Linked DNA regions of Homo sapiens: region 1 is linked to region 2. Evidence: promoter capture Hi-C in 16 types of primary human blood cells and fetal thymus (Javierre and others, 2016). All regions are on one chromosome and are shown on one strand. Each heading gives the region's core, a stretch centred on a gene start or on the middle of the fragment in contact. The rest is flanking DNA. Distances are from core to core; before and after follow the strand shown.

Region 1 (4,442 bases), core at 1,882-4,381, 310 kb before region 2:
TGACATCACCAGAGAAGCCTCGGCGGGAGAATCCCCGGAAGACAGGAGGCAGATGGATCGGGCACGTGACCACCCCCTCCGGGAGCAGGCAACAGGGAAACAGGGCCAGGATCCCGGCAGCCCTCCACACAATCGGCTCACTGGCTGTCCGGGCCATCTGGCCTCCTGGGGATTGGGCACCACAGGGCCCGGGCTGGGGCCAGGACTCCAGGTCTAGGGCAGGGGTCCAGGAGCAGAGGCCATCAGGGCCTACAGTCCCTCGTACCTTGCTACCCTGACCGGTGTCCCAGGCCTCGGGGGAGGGGCCTGTGGTTTACATGGGGCGTGTCCTCAATTAGGAGCTGGAGCTGCAGGCACCAGGCTGCCCCAGCCAGGGACCTTGAAGGGTCCCAGCCACCCCAGAAGGACACTAGGTCCTCTCTGAGCAGCCCTCTCTTGTTCCCAAGGGGCTAAGAGGACTCTGAATCCCGAAGCAGGGGGCGATGGAGGGAATCTCGCTGTGGTGTCCGCTGACCGCCAGTGCCCAGCCTGCAGCCCCTGGACCCTGACCTCTACCTCAGCTGGAGGATCCCAGAACAGAGAAGGGACCATCCTCCCAGGAGAAGGCAGCAGAGAGCGCCACACCCCAGGAGTTGCAGCCACCCCTGAGCAGGGCCGGATGCAGAGACAGCTGCACCCAGAGCTGCCGCCCTCGGGTTTGGGGCGCCCGTGTCCCTGGAGAGCCAGCAAGGGGGGATGGCTGCACCCAGGAGCTCACGGACGTGCTCATGGGGACAGGGTGGGCCCTGGCAGAGGCCCCGAGAGCCGCTCCCACTGCTGGGAGCCCCTCAGCTCTCCCTTCCTCAGTCCTGGGGACCTAGGCCTCCTCTGCTGTGCTCAGCCCAGGATTTCCTCAGCAGCTTGGAGGACGGGGAGGAGGGTGAGGCTGCCCCCCAACCAAAGCCATGACTCAGCGCCTGAAGCCCCACCCAGGGGAGGGGCACACTGAACAGAGGCCAGGCGGTTCCCCTACACGGGCTCCCCTGGCCTCCGGCCCACTGCACCTGGGCTGCCACTAGGCCCTCCCCAGACCAGGAGGGTGCGGGCAGGGTCCCCCTCTCCCGGGCTGGGGCGACCAGGCTCCACGTTACAGACCACATCTTCCCGCCCACCCTGCCTGGCCCCCCAACCTGGCGGTAGGCCAGGAAACTCAAGTTACGCCCTTAGGGCCTGCCCCCAGGACAGCCTCAGGGAGCCCCTCGAACCCCAGTTAAATCACAGCCTAACCCCAAAACCCACTGGGCCAGGCCATTCTCATCTCCCCACTCCAGTCCATGCCCCACAGGGGTGAGGCACTTTCCCAGGGCAGTCACTCTACGGCACCTACTGCAGCCCCACAGCCCCCATAACTGGCTCCTGTAACAGGCTCCCATGAGAGCCGGTTACCAGAGAGAAGGCCCAGAGGTGAGTGGGTTCCAGCACCCCCACACGACTGGAAGAGGGCAGTACAGGGCCGTCTGCGTGGAGGAGGAGGTCCATTAGGCTTCTGACGGAGGGGCCAGGGAGAAGGTGGGTGCTTCAGCCAGGGTCCAGCCCCCAGCAGGGAGGCCATGCCCACACCTCCCCACAGCCCGGGTCCTCAATGCAGGATCCTAGGGTGCTCAAGTTATTCAACCCCTTTTCCCAGGTCAGCAACAGAAGATGGGAGAGCAGAGGATGGCCCCAGTTCCTCTGCCCAGGGCTGGCGGCCACTCTCCTGGCTGGCCCTGAGCCTCCCACTCCAAGGCTCCTGAGCCTCCTGGTGAGGGCTCCAGGGATACAGAGGCTCCCCGTGCCTCCACACACATGCTGACTTGCCAGCAGATCCCAAGAGACCCAGCGCGCGCGTGCACACCCACACATACACAATCAAGCACACATGTGCAAACATGTTCATGCACAAACATGCCTGCACACACTGGTACCACACATACATGTGTGTTCAAGGAGACACTGCACAGACACGCATCAACATGTGTACCTAGTGATGGAACACGCGTGTACAAGGTGATGTGTCTATTGCTGACATGGCTAACACAGTACGTGAACCCACACAGACAGGTGGTGTGTGCACACGCTTGCGTGCACTCATCGGCAGGCTACATGCAGAAGCAAGCACAGCCCCGTGGCACAGCTCATCCACACGTCCTGTGCAAGGCCTGGTGTCCGGAGGGAGGCACGCAGAGGGGCAAAGTTCACAAGAGCGCACCCCGCACGAGCTCGTGCAGAGGAGGGGGCCTCACGCAGGTGCGCACTTGGGGATGCAGAGAGGTTTCTTTGCCTCCATTGTCGTTTGCCAAATGTCCACCAAGCAAAGCCGATGCACACTTGTGCACACGTCTGTGAACATGTAGTTCACGCAGGTGTACACGCCTGCACGCCACGAATGATGGAAAACATGCAGACTCGGTGTGCACACAACCCCTACCCCCTACCTGACCTTCCCCGCCGCTCTTCTCGGCCGCCACCCCTCCAAGCCCCTGGGTCATTCAAACCACTTCACGTTTCCAAGCACCCTACCCCAGGCCTTAAACGCGGCTCCAGCTGCCTGTTCCCCACGCGCTGCTCTGGACACAGGATCAAGTCAGAGACCAGGGGCCGACGCCCCCACGGACCCAGACGACCCTGGCCAGAGCTGGACTGCAGGGCCCGGGAGGGGCTCAGCCCAGTGGAGGTGCAGACACAGAGCGGGGGCGGACGGTCCCGAGGTGCCCACGGCTGCCCACGCGCACGCCCTCCACCCGGGGCGGCCGCACAGGGCAGGAGCGTCTTTTGTTCCAACCCCCGGGGCATGGCGGGGCGGGGCCGCCGCTTTGTCCGAGGCCGGTCCTCCAGCCCCTCCCCGGCGGCCGCGGCCCGGCCCGGCGCTGACCTCCCCACCCCGCCGCCGGGCACAAAGGCGACAGCGACGCCCCCGGCCTGCGCCCACCCCGGCGGCCCCGGGCGGCGCACCTGAAGCGCGGGGAGTCCTTGACGCACTCCTCGAACTCCACGGTCATGGCTGCGGCGGCCGCGGCGCTCACTGGCACGAGGACCGCGGCGCCGAGCGGCAGCCGCGCCGGCCCGGACCGCTCGTCCCGCCCGCGCCGCCTCGGCGCCCGCCCGCCCCGGAATGAGGCCGCCGCGCCGCGCCCCGCCCCGCCTGTCACCGCCGGGGAGCGTCGCCAAAGTCAGCCGCCCGCGCGCACCGCCCGCTGTCACTGCCGGGGAGCGTCGCCAAGGTCCGCCGCCCGCGCGCGCCGCCCGCTGTCACCGCCGGGGAGCGTCGCCAAACGCCTCTCGCAGCGTCCAGGGACCACCCCGGTCCGGAAGTGAGGCGGGGCCTGCCACGGCCGTCTCCGGGGACAGTCGGTGGAAATGTGGGGCGCGGGGAGGGCGCGGGGAGGGCGCGGGCCCGCCCGCTCCAACCATCCCGGCCGTTGCGCAACTCAGGGCGTTTGCAAAAACCACGTCTGGGAGGACTTGGCCGCAACGCGGCGAACGGGCGCGCTCGGGGAGTGTGGGCGGCGGCGAATGAATGAGCGAGTGAACGAATGCACGCCCGCGAGAGCGCGGGGTGACCGCGTGGTTGGTGCGCGCCTCCCGGGGCGCCGCGATAGAGGTAGAGCGCCTGCGCTCGGCGGCGGGCCGGCACTTTGCAGCCGCTCCCTAAGCCCGGCCCCGCCTCCGCTCCCCGACTCTGGCCGCCGTGGCGCGGTGCCACCGCGCAGGCGCAAGAGCGGCCGGGGCCGGGGGGGAGGGGGGGGGGGCGTGACCAGGCCGCGTCCGCGCGCGCGCAGGATTCCTGCGCTGGAGGCCGCCTCTGACGCCACCGGCTGGGCTCCGCCATGAGTTCGGCGCCGGCCTCAGGCTCCGTGCGCGCGCGCTATCTTGTGTACTTCCAGTACGTGGGCACCGACTTTAAGTAGGTTTCCCAGGCGCAGCGGCGGGCGCCACGTGGGCCCGGGCGGAGGCGGGAAGGAGGGCGCGGGCGGGCAGGCGGATGTCTCTGGACGCGGGTTCCAAACGTTCGGGGAAGGAAGCGGCCCTGGCCTCAGACGGCGGCGGAGACCCCAGGGCAGGGCGCCCCCGGTAACCTCCGCCCGCTTCTGCCCGCAGCGGGGTCGCGGCCGTCAGGGGCACTCAGCGCGCCGTCGGGGTCCAGAACTACCTGGAGGTGCGCTCAGCCGGTCACGGGACGCCCGGTGAGGGGTAAGGGGGAGGCTCCCGCCCGCGCGTCCCCGGGGTCCGGCCTCGCTCACCCGCCCGCCCCGCGGCTCGGTCCTGCAGGAGGCCGCCGAGCGGCTGAATTCCGTGGAGCCGGTCAGGTTCACCATCTCCAGCCGCACGGACGCCGGGGTCCACGCCCTGAGCAACGCGGCGCACCTGGACGTCCAGCGCCGCTCAGGCCGGCCGCCCTTCCCGCCCGAGGTCCTGGCCGAGGC
Region 2 (4,419 bases), core at 68-2,567:
GTTTGTGTCTGAGCATGCATGCGAGTGGAGGGGAGTGGTGAGTAATCCCGCGTCTCCTCTCTGAGTTCGGAACCCATGGAGGAAGAAAGCAGAGGTGCCAGACAGGCCTCTGATAGGCACCTGCAGGATTGGGGCAGAGCGGCCGCAGCGCAGGAGCGCCGGCAAGCCTGGCCCTTCCCGGGAGGCCCCCTTTGTCCGGTTCCACCCTGGCCTGTTGCCTCACATGCAACAAGTGTCTGAATGTGGCGCTCTCCTGGCCGAGGGCAGCCCTGGGCGGTGAGTGGGATGACACCCCAGCCTGCAGGGTGCCTGTAGGTCTCCACCCAGATGGGCAGGATTGGAGGTGGCCGCAGCGCTCGTGGGCTTTCCCTCAGCAGGTGTCTCCATGCTGGCCTCCCCGCCTCAGGGCTTCATCCCACTCCGTGGGCCTGATCTCCCTGGGGCACCTGGGATGTCCATCTGCGTTAGCTGGAGCTACTCCATGGCCTGTGGCGTGCCACACACAGCGGCATTTCGGTGTCATTAGGCACAGCTGGAGGTGCAAGGAGGAGGGCAGCCTCATGTCCAGTTCCATGTAACTTGCTTCTTCTGAATAAAGGCAATTTGCTAACTTTCTCGCTAAATAGGATTTGGTTTCTATGGCTTTTAAAGCTTCTCCGATAAAATACTTGCAATAAGGGAACTCTCTCCTCCTACACTCTCCTGACTGATGGTTCGGAAGTCCTCCTGCCCTCTGAGAGCTTGCAGTTTCTTGTGAAAAAGAGAAACTAAGCAGCAATAGAACAGACCCGGTGTCTGCTTGCGTGGTTAAGACGGTAAATGCTAAATGTGTGACACTGCCTTTAGAAACCATTTTCTCCAGCCTGGCTTGCTGGCTGCCCGTCTGGTTTGCTGTGTTGTGTCTCCAGTGGCTTTAGCTTCCAACAGGAAAGCCTGGTAGCCGAGCGAATCTGTGACCCAGGAAGTAGCAATTAAATGCCTGGGACGCTGCCTCGAGGCTGGTGTGTGCTCTGAGGTAAGTTCCGATTTGCCAAAGCACATCTGTCGATCTGTCGCCCGAGTCTTCACACCCTGACTGCCTCCATCATTTTAAACATCGGGAGCAGTTGCCTGCAGCGGGGTTCAGATGCCAGCCAGGGGCACAGCCTGTGAACTGTGGGTAGATGGCAAAGTCTAGCATTTCTGGCAAAGGAAAAAACATTTGGTAACTCTCTGAGTAAATTTCTGACTGAGATGAAGATACCCATTGTGGGGCAGCATCCTGAAGCGGAAGCCTGGGCTGTATGTTTCCAAGAGGAGGAGCAGGAGTGGCCACAGCCATGTACGCCACGATGTACACCAGGGGCTGCGTGGCCACAGCTCTGGTCTGCTGGTCTGCTCCCTGGAGCCCCTCCACCAGTGCTGGGCTGTGGCTGTGGCTGTCTCTGGTTTGTCTTTCTGGGAAACCTTGGCCAGGTTGGTGTGAGGGCAGGGCTAGCCTTGGACATCTGCACTTCCCATAGCAGCCTCTGGCCCAGAGCTCACCCGCTGTGGGCAGGTGATCAGGGTGATCAGGTCCCACGGGTCCCCTCCTCTGCACCTGGAGCCTTGTGGGTGTAGAACAGAAAAATAGGAGGGGGCAACCCAGAGGCCTCCTGCTCTCCAGGAAGGAATGGATGCTGGACAGGTCCAGGGTGGAGGCAGAGGGAGTGAGGGGCCCTTGGGGGAACATCTGTCCTAGAGGGCTTGATTTCCAGGCTGCCCACCCCACTCCTACCCCTAATCTGGTGTTCCTCACCTGCCTCCAGGAAGTCCTCACCTGAGGTCTGCAGCGGGTGTGCCAAGCGCCAGCCCCACATCACCTGCTCCCAGGCCTGCCCAGGGGATGGGTCCTGTGGCCAGTACCCTCGGGGTCAGCTTGACCCAGACCCAGCCCAGAACCTGTCCCATGGCCCCAGGAGGACAGGATGGTCAGGGAAGCCCAAGGGATGAGCCCTTTTGTCCACAAGCTTCCCTCTGACATGGGCAGGCTGCTTGTGCGACCCCACAGCCCCCACCTCTCATGAACAATGGGAATGGGGCAGGCCCCTCGATGCTGGGCTGGATCCTCCCGCCCCTAAGCAGGTGCACTCTGTCCCCTTTGAGAAGAGACCAAGGGATACAAGTGCTGGGTCCTGGCGGGGTGCCCCTCCTCCCTGCCTGTGGGGGTCTCATTACTGCCTCCTGCCCCCACCACAAACACCCCCTAGAGAGGCCTTCGGAGGCAGGTACTGAGCCCTGGGGCCAGGGTGCCAGGAGCCCAGTGGCAGGTCTTGGGTGACTGCTGGCCCTGGGGCAATGGTGAGAAAGCCAGGCAGGCAGCTGCAGGAAGGAGCTGAGGAGAAAGGCGGCAGAGCCTCAAAAGCTGCTGGCGGCCGGGCACAGTGGCTCACACCTGGAATCCCAGCACTTTGGGAGGCCGAGGCGGGCGGATCACGAGGTCAGGAGATCGAGACCATCCTGGCTAACACGGTGAAACCCCCGTCTCTACTAAAAAATAGAAAAAATGAGCCAGGTGTGGTGGCAGACGCCTGTAGTCCCAGCTACTCGGGAGGCTGAGGTAGGAGAATGGCGTGAACTTGGGAGGCGGAGCTTGCAGTGAGCTGAGATTGCGCCACTGCGCTCCAGCCTGGGCGACAGAGCGAGATTACGTCTCAAAAAAACCAAAACTGCTGGCCCCTCCAGAGGGTCCAGGATACTGAGCTCCTGAGCCTGGGATCCACGCGCATGTGGTCTGTCTGCACACTGGCACCGCAGAAGGGTTGGCAGGCGGGCAGGCATGGCTGGAGACCCCGCTCAGATGAGGCGGCCACTCCAGGGCAGTGCCATGCTGGACAGAAGGGACTGCCTTGGAAGTGGGACAGACCCCAGACCCTTGGGGTGGGGGCCCTGCAGGGGAGGCCTTGAGGAGGCGCCGGGTCTACAGGCCCCTGTGTGCTCACATCCCAGCCCCCGGGGAGAGGTGGGAGTGGGTGGGCGCACCCAGCTCCCCTGTCCAGGCTCGTCCCCCTTGTTGGGGCAGCCCTCAGCAAGTGGGGGGCTGGTTCCAGGCACAAGAAGTGAGGCCAGGGAGGAAGCCCTGCCTGTGTTCAGCCCAGTTGTGCCCCAACTCAGGTGGGCTTCCATGAGGGACAGCCTCTGGGAGGGTGGGGGTTTGTGGGCCAGGGCTGGAGAGCTGCCTGGCTGTGCTAAAAATACCGGGCATGCTGCAGACAGGTGCCAGTCTGGGGCACAGGCTACCCTGTCTCAGGCTGATGGCCTTGGCACTCCACCCCACTGCCCCTGTGACGCGGGGGCCGCCAAGGCTTGGTCTTGATTCCCAGAGGCCCTGCTGGTGACCTCCCCGACATCTCTGCCCTCTGCCCATCCCCCCAAGGGCAAGATTTGCCAAAGCACAGGACACATTGGCTCACACATGGGGCACCCTGCCCCTGTCTTTTTGGAAAGGTCCAATGGCATATGGCCAGCGGGTCGGGCAGGTGTGGCCGCTGGCCTGGGCTAAGCTGGCTGTGGCTGAGAGTCTGGGCGCAGAGACAGAAGGCGCCCCCTGCTGCAGAAGGATCACAGTGTGGGCTCATGGCATTGGCTTTTTTGCGGTCCCAAGTCCTTCATCTCCATTGCCGGGCCCATCTCGGGGGTCGGCAGATGCGTGTCCCCTACTAGCAAAGACCTCCAGTCGGTTCTGCGGCTGCCTGTGATGAGCCCTGCTCTGGCTAAGTGGAGGTGTTTGGCAGGGAGGAGTCCCCGGCTTAGTGTGATTCCAGCTGTGGCCGATTCTGGTGGGATCCTGGCAAGGAGGAGGTTGCGTGTGGATCTGGTGGAGGTGGACGGCCTGGCAGGGGGTGGGGTCTGCAACCCTAAGGAGCAGTGCCCCTCTCACTTGTCCCCCCGCCAGCAGACTGCTGCGTCGGCCTCCCCGGCCTGTGCCATTCTGTGGCGAAGGTCCCTGTGTAGAGGAGGCTGGAGTGGGGGAGCTCAGCCCAGGCCATGCCTCACCCTTCTTGGGTGCTCCATGGGCAAAAGCTGAGGTCAGTTTGTGGATCCTGGGAGCAGGAACCCTGCAGAGCCTGCCCCCCAGCTGGTGGCAGAGCAGGCAGTGGGGAGCTGCTGGGGCAGGAGGGAGTGACCTCCCTCCAAGACAGCCCCCAGTGGGGATGGGAGGGTCTGCAGAGATCTGGAGAGTCAAGTGTCATGACCCAGGTGGGGCCATGGAGCTGGGCTGGCCGGTGGAACTGTGTCCACCTGGACATGCTCTGGGTGAGGCGCAGTCAGCGCTGGGATGGCTAGAAGCGGCCTGTGCTGGGCGGGTCCTCGGGACACAGGGGCTGCCGCTGTCACAGAAGCCTGGCACAGATTCTCTCTGGTTCTTATGTTTCATTCATGCAGCCATTCAGTCAAAGC

Evidence for each region. Contacts are between HindIII fragments. The CHiCAGO score rates a contact against its expected background, and 5 or more counts as called.
Region 1: the fragment with the promoter of ACAP3 here is called in contact with a fragment that was not itself captured in region 2 in 1 of 17 cell types (erythroblasts); the score reaches 6.8 in erythroblasts.

Annotation. Positions count from the first base shown.
Region 1 is chr1:1,304,799-1,309,240 of GRCh38, forward strand. It overlaps ACAP3 (ArfGAP with coiled-coil, ankyrin repeat and PH domains 3), which reads right to left and starts at 3,132. Exons shown (of 24, transcript NM_030649.3): 1 at 2,971-3,132. The coding sequence starts at 3,017. PUSL1 (pseudouridine synthase like 1) reads left to right here and starts at 3,799. Exons shown (of 8, transcript NM_153339.3): 1 at 3,799-3,922; 2 at 4,117-4,174; 3 at 4,288-4,442. The coding sequence starts at 3,846. SNORD167 (small nucleolar RNA, C/D box 167) reads right to left here and starts at 14; the gene lies at 1-14. RefSeq lists silencers at 2,681-2,900, 2,951-3,120, 3,161-3,840, 4,061-4,130, 4,161-4,300 and 2 more. The HindIII fragment of the contact is 38,674 bases long and covers 1-4,442 here.
Region 2 is chr1:1,616,701-1,621,119 of GRCh38, forward strand. The region is part of intron 2 of MIB2 (MIB E3 ubiquitin protein ligase 2); the gene reads left to right. Among named protein-coding and RNA genes, the nearest start is that of MIB2, 3.4 kb to the left of the region's middle. The HindIII fragment of the contact is 1,337 bases long and covers 650-1,986 here.